3 separate regions of the Homo sapiens genome follow, and regions 1 and 3 are each linked to region 2. The links are contacts of gene promoters, found by promoter capture Hi-C in blood cells and fetal thymus (Javierre and others, 2016). All regions are on one chromosome and are shown on one strand. Each heading gives the region's core, a stretch centred on a gene start or on the middle of the fragment in contact. The rest is flanking DNA. Distances are from core to core; before and after follow the strand shown. Region 1 overlaps RNF216 (ring finger protein 216). Region 2 holds the start of WIPI2 (WD repeat domain, phosphoinositide interacting 2). Region 3 overlaps RNF216 (ring finger protein 216).

Region 1 (4,924 bases), core at 1,103-3,602, 510 kb after region 2:
TGCTTTTAAATTTTAAAAAGTGAAATTTTAAAAAGTGAAAACTGACAGAAGTACTCAGACACAAGTAGAGTTAAAAATCCTGAAGCCTCCTTGCTATGACGCCAGCCCTGCTCAGTACGTGACGGAAGGGAGGCTCACAGGGATGGTGTCTGCGACCCACTCAGCTCTGCCATTTACCATCACCTGACTTTAAGCCAGTGTCTATTTTGTAGGGCTGCTGTGGGGACCAATATGAGCTGAGAGCTCTGCCAGGCACCCTACATGATATACCTGTAAGGGAGCGTCCTTCTGCGGCCTGAACCTGAAGCTCTTCAGAGGGACCCATGCTGGGCTCTGAAGAAAGTGACTCACCTTGGAGGAGCAAGGGCAGGTCACATTCCATGATGAGAAATTCTCACACCACCCTCCTTCATATTTGACTCACATCATGCAGCATGGACTTCCACTCCAGTAAATGAGTCCTCATTTGTGGGCTTAAAAATCTTTTTGTTACCCAGCTATTTGGTTCTTGTCAACGCTACTTCCTGAATAAAGGTCTTCCCTGATAGTAGGAACAAGTGGCCCAAGCTTCATTCATCTCTAGATAAATGTGAAGGCCGTGCTCAGCACAGGAGTCAGCTGACTGGCTGGGCCCCAAATTAGAGTGCTGTTAATAAGTGCCAACCACCCGCCATCACAGCTGGAGCTGCCCTGGCATTGATAGCTGGTCCACACTCATTTACATTCTCTTCACGCAGCCATGCAGCTACTGTAGGAGGCTGCAGATGCCTGTTTTTTAACCAACAAACTGGTTCACTGCAGATGTGAATTTTGGTTGTACTTCACGGCTGTAAAGTTAAAAACAGCAAATGCTACAAAGAATAGGATGGGAACCTAGAAAGGGCAGAAAAACAAGCAGGGAAGAAAGCTGGCAGGTGAGAAAAGATAAATAAATACAAGTGACATTGGGAAAAGATGGGTGGTTACACAACCACACACACATTTGCAGTTTCCACGAAAAGACTACACCAGATGTTCTTCAGTTACTCTGATTAAACTCTCACCACCTGATGGTCTCTCGTCGTTAGCGCTTGCTTCATGAGTGTGCCTAAACCTCCACCTTGTGGCCCTAAGTTTCTGGAAAACTTGACTTACACAGCTCTGAGTTTATAAAGCAAAGTTATGGCTGTGGCAAGGCAGAAAAGACTCAACAGTGAAACTTCTGACCCTAAGAATACATATTCCAGAAGCATCACCTTCAAATCTCCTTTTATGTAACACTCTTCAGTCTCACACCAAACACACCCAATTCATTCCTAAAAGCAGCACACTGAAAACAAACTAATGAATTCTTTATCTGAGAACACACAAGGGAGCTGAGAGCCTTGACAAAAGCATTCCATCATATCAATGAAACAAAGACTCTCTCCATTTCATCAAAGATACAGTGTCTTATTCTTCAGGGATTCCAGAGGACTGATTCCAGCCATTCAAGTCCTCCTCCAGAGGCCGTCTTATATTAATACGTTTATATTAATGCCGTATTAATATAAACGCCTCATTTCAGAGCGACAAGTTCCTGAAAAGCCAACTGGAATTTATATTACTGGCAAAGACACTGCAATGAGAAAGCAGGTGCCCTTAGTCTCACACGGGTCAAAATTAGCTTGTGGCTCATGTCTTAAATATCAGGAATCCTCAAGGATTAGCGACTGCTTTAGCCATCTTGCTACAAAGAATGGCATAAGGAGAATTTGCACAACTGAGAAAGGTAAAAGCGTATGCGCTAATAACATGGACTTCTTAGATAAAGTCTAAATGCACGTAGCGATTTGCTTTGGTACTGAGCCCAAAAGAACTGTGTCAATTCTGCTTACAAAACAGTGTTTTGCTGACACATACTTTTCAAACACCCAAGAGGAAGAAAACCCTTTCCTCATGGAGCATCTGTGCCACCTAGTGGCAACTCGTTCCACAGCCCACAAATAAGGACAGAAGATTAGGCATAAACTCTCCTTTCTCATCCAAAGGACAAGGTGGGGACTTCTCTCATTCCTCTGGTGGTCACTGAGCCAGCTCCACCAGGCCGTCACTGCCTCAGGTCCCCATATAACATTTTTCACTTTATTTTCCATGATGGGCCAAACACCTACAATCCTTACCCTAACATTAGAAACTAAAATGTGAATGCTGTTATCCATAGGTGAAAGTCAAGTTCTGAAACATACTGTAATCCATCATGTAATCATAACACACATTCTCTCCACTGCAAAACGTTGCTGAGGGGCATAAAAAGATGTGAATAAATGAAAAAACATACTTTAAACTTAGCATGGCCCAGCATTTCTAAGCTAATAATAATCTCCCTGATGGGCACCTTACCCCTCTCCTCCTCTTTCCTCCTTTTGCTGCTCATTTCAGACTCCAAAATCTTTTTCCAGCCTAGATCTCTCCCTGTGTTACTGACCCGGATCACTGATCTAGGGTCACTGATTTATGGAGCACCTACTATGTGCCAGGCATTGTAAAAACACGTACACACTGGATGTCTCCCCTAAAAACTCAACATGTCCAAAACAAAAGTAATCTCTCCTGAATCTTTTGGATTCCATTTCCAGTTTTGTAAACAGCATCATCAACTACATAGTGGTCCAAACCAGACACGCCTGTGAGACCTCTGGCTTTCTCCCCACCTTCACATGCAACATATCACCTTCTAATCCTCTACCTCTCAAATCTGCTCCTGTTCTCCAACTCCAAGGGCAGTTATGGTCCTTATGATCCTTATCAGTCAGGATGTGCTAGGTTATGCTGCTGGAACAAACTCAAACCTCAGTAGTTCAAAACAGACTTTGTTCTCACTCATGCTGCACATCCCTCTTGGCAGAGGGAAAAAATGAACCATATGCCCTTTAAAAAAAACTGCGGTAGGCTGGGCACGGTGGCTCACCCTGTAATCCCAGCACTTTGGGAGGCCAAGGCAGGCAGATCACCTGAGGTCAGGAGTTCGAGACCAGACGGACCAACATGGAGAAACCCCGCCTCTACAAAAATACAACATTAGCCGGGCGTGGTGGCACATGCAGGTAATCACAGCTACTCGGGAGGCTGGGGCAGGAGAATTGCTTGAACCTGGGAGGCGGAGGTTATGGTGAGCCAAGATCATACCATTGCACTCCAGCCTGGGCAAGAAGAGCGAAACTCCATCTCAACAAAAACTAAAACAAAACAAAACAAAACAAAACAAAACAAAACAAAACAAAACAAAACACCACTCTGGGAGGCCGAAGCAGGTGGAGGATTACGAGGTCAGGAGATCAAGATCATCCTGGCTAACATGGTGAAACCCCGTCTCTACTAAAAATGCAAAAAATTAGCCGGGCATGGTGGCATGTGCCTGTAGTCCCAGCTATTCAGGAGGCTGAGGCAGGAGAATCGCTTGCACCCGGAAGGTGGAGGTTGCAGTGAGCTGAGATTGCACCACTGCACTCCAGCCTGAGCAACACAGCGACACTCCATCTCAAAAAAAAAAAAAAAAAAAATTGTGGTGAAAACACACAATACAAAAACTACCCAATTAACACATTTTTAAGTGTACAGGGTCTGTTAGCAAAATGTTGTACAGCTGATCTCTAAACAACTTAATCTGGCATGACTGAAACTTCCCACTGCACAGTGACTCCCCACTTTGCCTTCTCCCAGCCTCTGGCACCCAGGGTTCTACTTTGTGTTTCTATGAGTCTGACTACTTTAGATCCTGCATTTAAGTGGAATCGTGCAGTATCTGTCCTTCTATGACTGGCTAATTGCACTGAACACAATGTCCCTCAAGGTGGTTTATCTGTGTTGTTAGTATGTGCCAGGAGTTCCTTCTTTTCAAAGGCTGCATAATATACCAAATTTTAACCATTCATCTGTTGACGAACATGTCAGTAAGTGGTTTCCATCTTGTGGCTACTGTGAATAATGCTGCAATGAACACAGGAACATGCTGAGATCCTTTCCCAAAGGATTTCAATTCCTTTCCACCGGCTGCCTTTTCACTCTGTTGATGGTTTCCTTTGCTGAAAGCATCTTAGTAGTCACTTGCCTGTTTTTTGCTTTTGTCACCTTGTTTTTGGTATTATACCCAGGAAATCATTGCCAAGACTGATGTCATGAAGCTTTCCACCTACGTTTTCTTCTAGTTTTTATAGTTTCAGGTCTTACACTTAAGTCTTTAATCCATTTAAAGAGTTGATTTTTGTGTTATGATATGAGATATGGTATCAGCGTCTAAGTTCATTCTTTTGCATGTGGATATTCAGTTTACAGAGCACCATTAATCAGAGACTACCTTTTCCCCCGGTGGGTGTTCTTTGCACCCTTGTTGAAGATCAGCTGATCATAAATGTGTGGATTTATTTCTGAGCACTGTATTATGTTCCATTGGTCTACATGTCTGCCTGTTTAAATTACTGTAGCTTTGTAATAAGTTTTGAAGTCAGGAAGTGTGAGGCTTCCAGCTTTGTTCTTCTTTCTTAAGACTGTCTAGGATATTTGGGATCCTTTGTGGTTCCATATGCATTTTAGGGATGTCTTTCCATTTATTTATGTCTTCTTTAATTATTTCAGCAGTTTTTTATAGTTTTCAGTGTATAAGTCTTTACCCACTCCTTGGTTAAGTTGTTCCTAAGTATTCCAACTTTTTTGATGTATTATAAATTAGATTTTCTTAATTTCTCTTTTTGGAGTGTTTGTTAGTGTACAGGAACGCAACTGATTTTTATGTGCTAATTTTGTATCCTGCACCTTTACTGAATATATTAATTCTAACAAGTTTTTTTGTGGAAATTGCAGATTTTTCTATGTATAAGATCATGTTATCTGTGAACTTGCACGGATATAGATGCTTTTGCTTTTTCCTGCCAAATAGCTCTAGCTAGGGCTTCCAGTGTTATATAGC
Region 2 (4,475 bases), core at 1,094-3,593:
TGGACAGGTCACACCCTCATCCTCAAGCCCTTCCCATATAGAGTGTTTTCATGCCCTTAGACTAGTTACTCAAACTTCAGGTCTCATCTCTTCCAGGAGCCTTCTCAATAGCACAGTCCCTGTCCCTTAAATATAGGTTGTGTGACTTCTATATATGCATTCATGGTCAGGCACAGTGGCTCATGCCTGTAATCCCAGCACTTTGGGAGGCCGAGGCAGGCAGATTACCTGAGGTCGGAAGTTCGAGACCAGCGTGACCAACATGGAGAAATCCCGTCTCCACTAAACATACAAAAATTAACTGGGCGTGATGGTGCACACCTGTAATCCCAGCTACTCGGGAGGCTGAGGCAGGAGAATCACTTGAACCCGGAAGGTGGACGTTGCAGTGAGCCGAGATTGCGCCATCGCACTCCAGCCTGGTCAAGAAGGTGAAATTCCGTCTCAAAAAAAAAAAAAAAAAAAAAAAAAATATATATATATATATATATATATATATATTCGCTCATTGTACCCCCGAGTTTCTAATTATATTTATTTATTTTATTTTTTGAGATGGAGTCTCACTGTGTCGCCCAGGCTGGAGTGCAGTGGCATGATCTCGGCTCACTGCAGCCTTCACCTCCTGGGTTCAAGCAATTCTCCCATCTCAGTCTCCTGAGTAGCTGGGATTACAGGGCCGTGCCACCACAACTGGCTAATATTTTACATTTTTCCTAGAGACAGGGTTTCACCATGTTGGGCAGGCTAGTCTCAAACTCATGACCTCAGGTGATCCACCTGCCTCAGCCTCCCAAAGTGCTGGGGTTACAGGCGTGAGTCACCATGCCCAGCCTATTTTATTTTACTTTTTAGATGGAGTCTCACTCTGTCGTCCGTCCAGGCTGGAGTGCAGAGGTGCAATCTCGGCTCACTGCAACCTCCACCTGTGGGGCTCAAGCAATTCTCCCACCTCAGCCTCCCTAGTAGCTGAGATTACAGGTGCCCACCACCATACCCAGCTAACTTTTGTACTTTTAGTAGAGACGGGGTTTCACCATGTTAGCCAGGCTGGTCTGGAACTCCCGACCTCAGGTGATCCACCCGCCTCAGCCTCCCAAAGTGCTGGGATTACAGGTAAGAGCCACCACACCTGGCCTTCTATTTATATTTAAATATCTCCCCATTATAACTTCTCTGAGGGAAAGGAGGAGGCCTATTTAGTTCACATGAGAGGTGCGTCCTAAATACTGTTGAATGAATGAATAAATTTAAGGGACGATTCTGTCCCAGGAACCCAGACAGTATGGACCTTGGAGAAACAGGACGTTTCCAGTCTCAGATCTAGCACTTGGCTAATAATTATTTCTGAGCCTCGATTTTCAAATCTGTAAAATTAAGATATACTATTCTCTACTTAGGATTGTAATGGGCATCAAATAAGATAATGTGGCTGGGCACAGTGGCTCACATCTGTAATCCCAGTACTTTGGGAGGCCGAGGTGGGAGCATCACTTGAGGCCAGGAGTGCGAGACCAGCCTAGGCAACAGAGTAAGACCCCCCCCGCCCCCACCCCATCTCTACAAAAAACTTAAAAGTTAGCAGGGTGTGGTGGCATGCATTTGTGGTCCCAGCTACTTGGGAGGCTAAGGTGGGAGGATCGCTTGAGCCTGAGTTTGAGGCTGCAGTGAGCTGTGATTGAGCCTCTGCACTCCAGCCTAGGCAACAGAGCGAGACCTTGTCTTTCAAAATAATAAAATGATAAGGTAATGCGCAGAAGCATTCAGCACAGTGATTGGCACATGGAGGGCCCATTGGGGTGTTTTTGTTTTTGTTTTTGTTGTTGTTTGAGACAGAGTCTCGCTCTATGGCCCAGGCTGGATGGATTGCAGTGGCATGATCTCGGCTCACTGCAATCTCCGCCTCCTGGGTTCAAGCGATTATCTTGCCTCAGCCTCCCGAGTAGCTGGGATTACAGGCGTACACCACCAAGCCCGGCTAATTTTTCTTGTATTTTTAGTAGAGACGGGGTTTCACCATGTTGGCCAGGCTGGTCTCGAACTTCTGATCTTAGGTGATCCGCCCGCCTTGGCCTCCCAAAATGCTGGGATTACAGGCCACCGTGCCTGGCCATTGAGTGTTATTAAGAGGAGGGTACGCAGAAAACAGACTCCCGCCAGCTCTGCCCCATGCGCATGAGCGGCCGCCGCTCGCCCTCAGCCAGGCCCAGCGCGCCCCGACGCGTCCCCACGCCTGCGTGATCCACCGGAACCCAAGCCCAGGCAGGCGGTGAGAGGGCGGGGCCTCCGCAGTGCGACTGCGCCGCTCGAGGCCGTGCGTCGCGGGGGCGGGGCCGCGCAGGCGTACCGGGTGCCCCGGCTCTGGAGCATAAACAAGAGCGGGGACGGGATGAGGCGGCGGTTGATCCCAGGGTGGCGAGTGGCGGCGACCGAGGCGGCGAGCGGGGCCCGGCGCCGACCCTGAGTGCAGCCTGACCCGCCCTCGCGCGCGCGCCCTCCCCGGCCGGGCCCACTCGCCGCGCGCCCAGCCATGAACCTGGCGAGCCAGAGCGGGGAGGCCGGCGCCGGCCAGCTGCTCTTCGCCAACTTCAACCAGGACAACACGTAAGGCCGGGGTCGGGGGTCGGAGTCGGGGTGAGGCCAGGGTCGGACCCGGGCTAGGGGGAGGGCCTCGCTGCCAAGCTCGGCGGCGTCGCAGGCTCGGCCTCCCCGCGGGCCAAGGCGCGCAGAGGCGTCCCCAGGGGCGGGCCCGGGGCGTGCAGGGAGGGGCGCCCTCCAGGGAGACCCTCGGGTGCTGGCCTGGAGCTGCGGTCCCGGAGCGGGAGAGGTGGTGGAGAGGGGGCTGCTTTCACCCTCTTGCGGGGAGGCCCCCTGGCTTCAGACTTAACTACTTCTCGCAAAGTTGGGGCCGAACTTTGGGGCTTGACTTGTCTTGGCCGCCTGTGGAGCGCTGGGTGTGGGTCGCTTCCTCTCCTCTCGTCTCCTCTTCCCGCTGCTTGCTCAGCGTCTCCCACTCACTCTCCTTTGAATCAGGCCCTTCTCCTTGTCTTTTCATCGTCTTAAGACCCTTCTCTCTCTCTTGATTTTCTTTTCTTCGTTTCTCACTGTTTTTTTGTTTGTTTTTGTTTTTTGGGGTTTGTTTTGTTTTGAGACAGAGTCTTGCTCTGTTGCCCAGGCTGGAGTGCAGTGGTGCCATCTCAGCTCACTGCAACCTCCGCCTCCTGGGTTCAAGCGATTCTCCTGCCTCAGCCTCCCGAGTAGCTGAGACTACAGGCACGCGCCACTGTGCCCAGCTAACTTTTTTGTATTTGTAGTAGAGACAGGGTTTCACCATGTTGGTCAGGCTGGTCTCAAATTCCTGACCTCAAGTGATCCGCCCACCTCAGCCTCCCAAAGTGCTGGGATTACAGGTGTGAGCCACCGTGCGCGGCCCTCCCTGTTCTTTTTGGGACATCAACTTTGATGTCTTCTCCAGCAAGTAACAAACTTAGCAATAACCTTGGCATCTGACCTAGCTAGGGAGAAACTGAGCCAAGAGAGGCGTTACGGACCAGTGCCCCAGGAGTCTCAGAGCTCCAGCGGGTGGGTCATCCTCAGGGCAAGAGAAGGCCTTAATGCCAGCCCGTGCATTCGGAACGCTGTTTGTCCCCACTGATACGGGTTGGATGCTGCCTGGGAGGAGGACTTGTGGGGATGGTTAATAGATGAGCGAGCTTTCTGGAGAGAGAAGGGTGAGTTATGGGGTTGGCAGGGAGGAGAGCCATCTTGGAAGTGAGTAAGAGGAAGTGAGGAAAGAGAAGGAGTGGGGCATTTGGCATCTTACTAAGTCATTGGTTGAGTTGTTACTGGCTGAGTGGAATTAACATAGCAGAAGGTAAGATTCTTTAGGAAATTAAAAGTGAATTGTAGAATGGACAACACTCAGTGGGTGGTGTACAGCAGGCACTCAATAGCACCTCCCCAAAGCTGTGAAGACAGTCGCACAGTGGGACTGTATTGAGAGTCGGAAGGGGCAAATCACCTCATCCAACTACAGATGAGGAAATCCTTCCGAAAGGCTCCAAGCTGGTCTGGGTTTTGGAATTGGTTAATAGTGGAGCGGGGGCAGGAGTGGAATCTCGCCTCCTGAGCTCTCTTCCAATGTTCTTTCTGCTCTGCCATGCTGTTTTTTTTTCTGTTTACAGAGTAGAATTCTGAAGACAGTGAATTTAGAAATAATAGCATAACAACGTGTAAAGATGAAAACTCCCAAGTACTGTAGCGTTCTGTGTGACCAAAAGCCAGAACAACAAACAATTCGGACAACCTGTTGCAGTTCAAGTGGAATAGACTATGTTAATCCAGATAGGGAAAAGGACACATCCCAAACCAATTCTAATTTGGTTTTTAAGCCCAAGGCCACAGTATTTTGAGACCAGTAAGAAATGGTAGTAGTAGTAGGGTGGTTTATGCCTTGTATAAATTAGAGAGTTTCC
Region 3 (4,706 bases), core at 1,665-4,164, 530 kb after region 2:
ATAACCCACCCTTTTTTTTTTTTTTGAAACTGAGTCTTGCTTTGTTGCCCAGGCTGGAGTGCAGTGGCATGATTTTGGCTCACTGCAACCAACCTCGACCTCCCATGTTCAAGCAATTCTCGTGCCTCATCCTCCCAAGTAGCTGGGATTACAGGTGTGTGCCACCATGCCCAGCTAATTTATTTTTAGTAGAGACAGAGTTTTGCCATGTTGGTCAGGCTGGTCTGTAACTCCTGATCTCAGGTGATCTGCCCACCTCGGCCTTCCAAAGCATGTAATCATGCTGGGATTACAGGCATGAGCCATCCCACCCGGCCAAACTTAAGTTTTTTTAGTCTTGAACTCCTGGCCTCAAGTGATTGCCTGCCTTGGCCTCCCAAAGTGCTGGGATTACATGCATAAGCCACTGTGCCTGGCCAGAAACGAATAAACTTGTTTATCAAGTTAATGGTATAAGCACCGAGATTTATTTCAAGTGACTTTAAAATATTTTAAATATTGAATAATGTTATTAATATTATTAAGAACCAAGACTTTTAGCATCAGAGAAAAGAAAGTTGGCAGGGCATGGTGGTGCATGCCTGTAACCCCAACAATTTGGGCGGCTGAGTTGGGAGGACGGCTTGAGGCCAGAAGTTCGAGACCAGCCTGGACAGCATGGGGAAACCCAGGCTCTACAAAAAAAGTTAGCCAGGTGTGGTGGTGCACACCTGCAGTCCCAATTACTCAGGAGGTTGAGATGGAAGGACTGCTTGAGCCCAGGAGGTAGGTTGAAGCAGTAAGCCATGATTGCATCACTGCACTCCAGCCTAAGTAACACATGGAGCTCCTCTGTCAAAAAAGAAAAGAAAAAAGCAAAGAAGGTACTTTGGAAAATTGTTGAGTCCAGGTCTGAGAAAGCAGAAGCTGAAACGGGGTCATTTGGCTGTGCCCAAAAGCAAAGATGTTGTCAGAGACTACAGGGGTCGGGTTAAGAGAGACTAACTTGAAGGGGCAGCCAATAGTCAGAGATGGGACAATGTGAATATCACCAAGAATAAAAGACTACAATGAACTACATTCATCAATTTGCCAATACTTTAAATACTTATCTGATAAGATTGGTGATATCAATGAATGTCATTCTATAACAGATGGATCAAAACAATAAATTCTAATTTCTGCTTAAAATCTAGAATTTTGGTCAAAAATAATCACTTCATTCATTTTTGAGAAAATGCCTGCCAAATACCTATTTTGAATAATCATAGTTTTTCTGTCACTTTTTTCCAAGTAAAAAGTGGCCAATGCAGCTGCTTTGTGGCTCAGTTGCATAAGTGCTTTCCTCATACCTGGATATAAGACAAGCTTCATATCCTGGGATGTGGCAGAAGCACTTTATGAAGACTTCATTTTATTACACAGAATATTGAAAAGATGTTTCCAACGGTCAAAACTTGGTAAAGTAATTTTTACTGCTTTATCAAAGACATTTTCAGGTGAAACTGGTGTGTCTTAAAAATGTAAGTGCATGGTGGTGAAGAAAACAATGATTGTGACGATGGCTCTACGACACTGGCCTGATTCATGCCAAGGCACCACTGCTTTTGTTCTGCTGGTACAAACTCAATATGGTGAAAAAGCAAATATAGCTGAGCTTGATCAACAGAGATGTGAACTGTGGGGACCCACTTATGTGCTGATTTTCTTCTGCTTCTGCCACCCTGAGACAGCAAAACCAACACACCCCTCCTCCTCAGCCTACTCAACGTGAAGACCATGAAGATAAAGACCTTCTCATGCTGATCCACACTTCCATTTAATGAATATGAAATATATTTTCCTTCTCATTTTCTTAATAACGTTTTCTCTAGCTTACCTTATTCTAAGAATACAGCATGTAATACACAAAACATACCAAACGTGCTCATCGACTATTATGGGTAAGGCTTCCTGTCAACGGTAGGCTGTTCACAGTGAAGTTTTGGGGCAGTCAAACATTATATGCTGACTTTCAGCTGCACAGGGGGAAGCACTCCTAACTTTCATGTTGTTCAAGGGTCACTGTAATGTCTTAGCATAGTTATAAGAGGTTTGACCTCGCAGACCCCCAAGAGAGTCTTGGGAAACCCAGGGATCTCTGGGTCACACTTTGAGAGCCACTGGTTTAGAAGATACTTATTAAACAACCAATATATACATTCCAGCTGACTTGCACATTTGATACTATATTTAGAAAAATTAAAGAGCGAAATGGAACCGAGGCTGAGGGAGGAGGTAAAATAGATACACTAAGCTCCAATTAAAATTTTCTAACATGAATCTGATTTATGAAACCACAAACATAAGTATTATGACAAAATCCAGGTTTTTTCTTTTAAAAACTTTGCATATATCCAAATTTAACAGTCTGAAGAAAAGGGAAATCTTAAAAGACAGTTTTGTACTAACTAAACCCTAAGAGCAAACCAGAATCCCAGAAACACACCCCAAGACCAGAGCACATCTTCCTACCTCTGCCATCTCTTTGATTTTCTGCTCATAGAACTCCTGCTCTTGTTGCACAGCTGGAAGGAGAGCACGTCGGTCATAGGACCTACAATGTCGTCGCTTATTTTCAAGAAAGAACATCCTCTTTTCTATTTTTATGTCACCTAGAAGATATACGACAATGCAAAAGCATGCAGACAACTATGTGTTAGGAACCTGGGCCAGCCATGTCCATTCTTCCCGGCCTCATCCTCCACCTTCTCTCTGATGGTACGTTTCATGACTTTTCTATCACATTCTACCATTTGGGAAGACTGGGCTTCTTACCATTAGCCAACCTACCATCCATTTTTTGACCTTTCTGATTCTTTCCCTCTGTTTATGCTCCAATTGGAAGGCATCTCCTATCCTGTCACTAGTGTACTATGTGAATATACCACAATTTATTATCTATTTCACTACTGAGGACATTTGGGTTTGCTGTTTTGGGTTAATCTGAATAGCGCTGCTTATAGCCATTTGTTGGTGAATGTATGTCCGCAATTTACCTGCGAATTGCTAGATCATGGGATAGGCTTACTTCCAGCTTCAGAAAATAATGCCAGTTTTCCAAAGTGGTTGTACCAGTTTACACCCTTCCTCCATCAGCAATGCATGTGAGTTCCAGTCTCTCCATGTCCTTACCAACACCTATCATCGGTTTTTAATTTTAGCCATTCTGGTGGGTGCAAATGTGCTGTATGATTTTCAACCATTTTTATTTTCAAAGCATTCAAATATACAAGGGGCTGAAGGAACAGTACCTAGATTCACCACAATATATTATAACATGAGAATAAAAGAGAGCAGAATAACAAATATTAGACACGTAAATGATCTGTTTAGGTTTTGTACTTGTTTCACTGATTTGGCAATTTATGATTTTCTTTTTGGAGACAGAGCCTTGCTCTGCTGCTCACGCTGGAGTGCAGTGGCACATTCACAGATCACTGCAGCCTCAACTCCTGGGCTCAGGCAATCCTCCCGCCTCAGCCTCCTGAGGAGCTGGGACTATACAGGCAGATGCCACCACACCCAGCTAATTTTTTTGTATTTTTTTAGAGATGGGATTTTGCCATGTTGTCCAGGCTGGTCTTGAAGTCCTGGGCTAAATGATCCACCAGCCTTGGCCTCCCAAAGTGCTGGGATTACAGGTGTGAGCCACAACGCCTGGCCAATTTATGTTTTTCTAGAAAACTTTATCTCATTCAGATTTTCAATTTACTCTTGTCTGTTCTTGGTAATCTCTTGATTTTAATATTTACTATCTGGTTCCTAATACATTTTATTTTGATTCTCCTTTTCTCTTGCTCATTCTCATGTTTTTTTTTTTGTTTGTTTGTTTGTTTTGTTTTTTTTTGAGACAGAGTCTCACTCTGTTGCCCAGGCAAGGGTGCAGTGGTGCGATCTCGGCTCACTGTCAGCTCCGCCCCCCGGGGTTCACGCCATTCTCCTGCCTCAGCCTCCCGAGTAGCTGGGACTACAGGCGCCCGCCACCATGCCCGGCTAATTTTTTGTATTTTTAGTAAAGACGGGGTTTCACTGTGTTAGCCAGGATGGTCTTGATCTCCCGACCTCGTGATCCGCCTGCCTCGGCCTCCCAAAGTGCCAGGATTACAGGCATGAGCCACCGCGCCCAGCCTCTCATGTTTTTTTAAATTCAAACCTTTTCTTCAGAAAACCAGTTTTTGGGGCCAGGCGCAGTGACTCACGCCTGTAATCCCAGCACTTTGGGAGGCCAAGGAGGGCACATCATCTAAGGTTAGGAGTTCGAGACCAACCTGTCCAACATGGTGAAACCCCCCAGGCATGATGGCGCACACCTGTAATTAATTCCAGCTACTTGCGAGGCTGAGGCAGGAGAATCGCTTGAGCTTGGGAAGTGGACTCCGTCTTAAAATTAAAAAAAACAACAGCAACAAAAAAAATCAGTTTTTGGTATTATGAGAATAGAAAAGCACGTGGTTAGACAGTAAGCTTTGAAGCCAGATTCCCAGCTGGGCTACTCGCTAGCTGTGTAACATCTGCCAAGTTACTTAACCTCTCTGTGCTTCACTTTTTTTCTATAAAATGATAATAATGGCACATACATCTCATAAGGCTATTTGAAACATAAATGAATTAATCCATTAAAGCACTTAGAAAAGTGACTGGTACATATTAAGTGCTCAATGTTAATTACTGTAATTATCAATGCT

Evidence for each region. The method cuts DNA at HindIII sites, captures the fragments that hold promoters and counts their contacts. A CHiCAGO score of 5 or more calls a contact.
Region 1: a contact is called between a fragment that was not itself captured here and the fragment with the promoter of WIPI2 in region 2, in 2 of 17 cell types (naive B cells and fetal thymus). The highest score is 5.8, in naive B cells.
Region 3: a fragment that was not itself captured here is called in contact with the fragment with the promoter of WIPI2 in region 2 in 2 of 17 cell types (fetal thymus and erythroblasts); the score reaches 6.4 in fetal thymus.

What each region holds. Positions count from the first base shown.
Region 1 is chr7:5,702,719-5,707,642 of GRCh38, forward strand. The region is part of intron 13 of RNF216 (ring finger protein 216); the gene reads right to left. Among named protein-coding and RNA genes, the nearest start is that of MIR6874, 6.7 kb to the right of the region's middle. RefSeq lists an enhancer at 1-431. The HindIII fragment of the contact is 3,575 bases long and covers 566-4,140 here.
Region 2 is chr7:5,187,890-5,192,364 of GRCh38, forward strand. It overlaps WIPI2 (WD repeat domain, phosphoinositide interacting 2), which reads left to right and starts at 2,344. Exons shown (of 13, transcript NM_015610.4): 1 at 2,344-2,604. The coding sequence starts at 2,531. RefSeq lists silencers at 2,129-2,778, 2,789-2,838. The HindIII fragment of the contact is 15,802 bases long and covers 1-4,475 here.
Region 3 is chr7:5,718,540-5,723,245 of GRCh38, forward strand. It overlaps RNF216 (ring finger protein 216), which reads right to left. Exons shown (of 17, transcript NM_207111.4): 9 at 2,494-2,633. Among named protein-coding and RNA genes, the nearest start is that of MIR6874, 9.0 kb to the left of the region's middle. The HindIII fragment of the contact is 3,138 bases long and covers 1,346-4,483 here.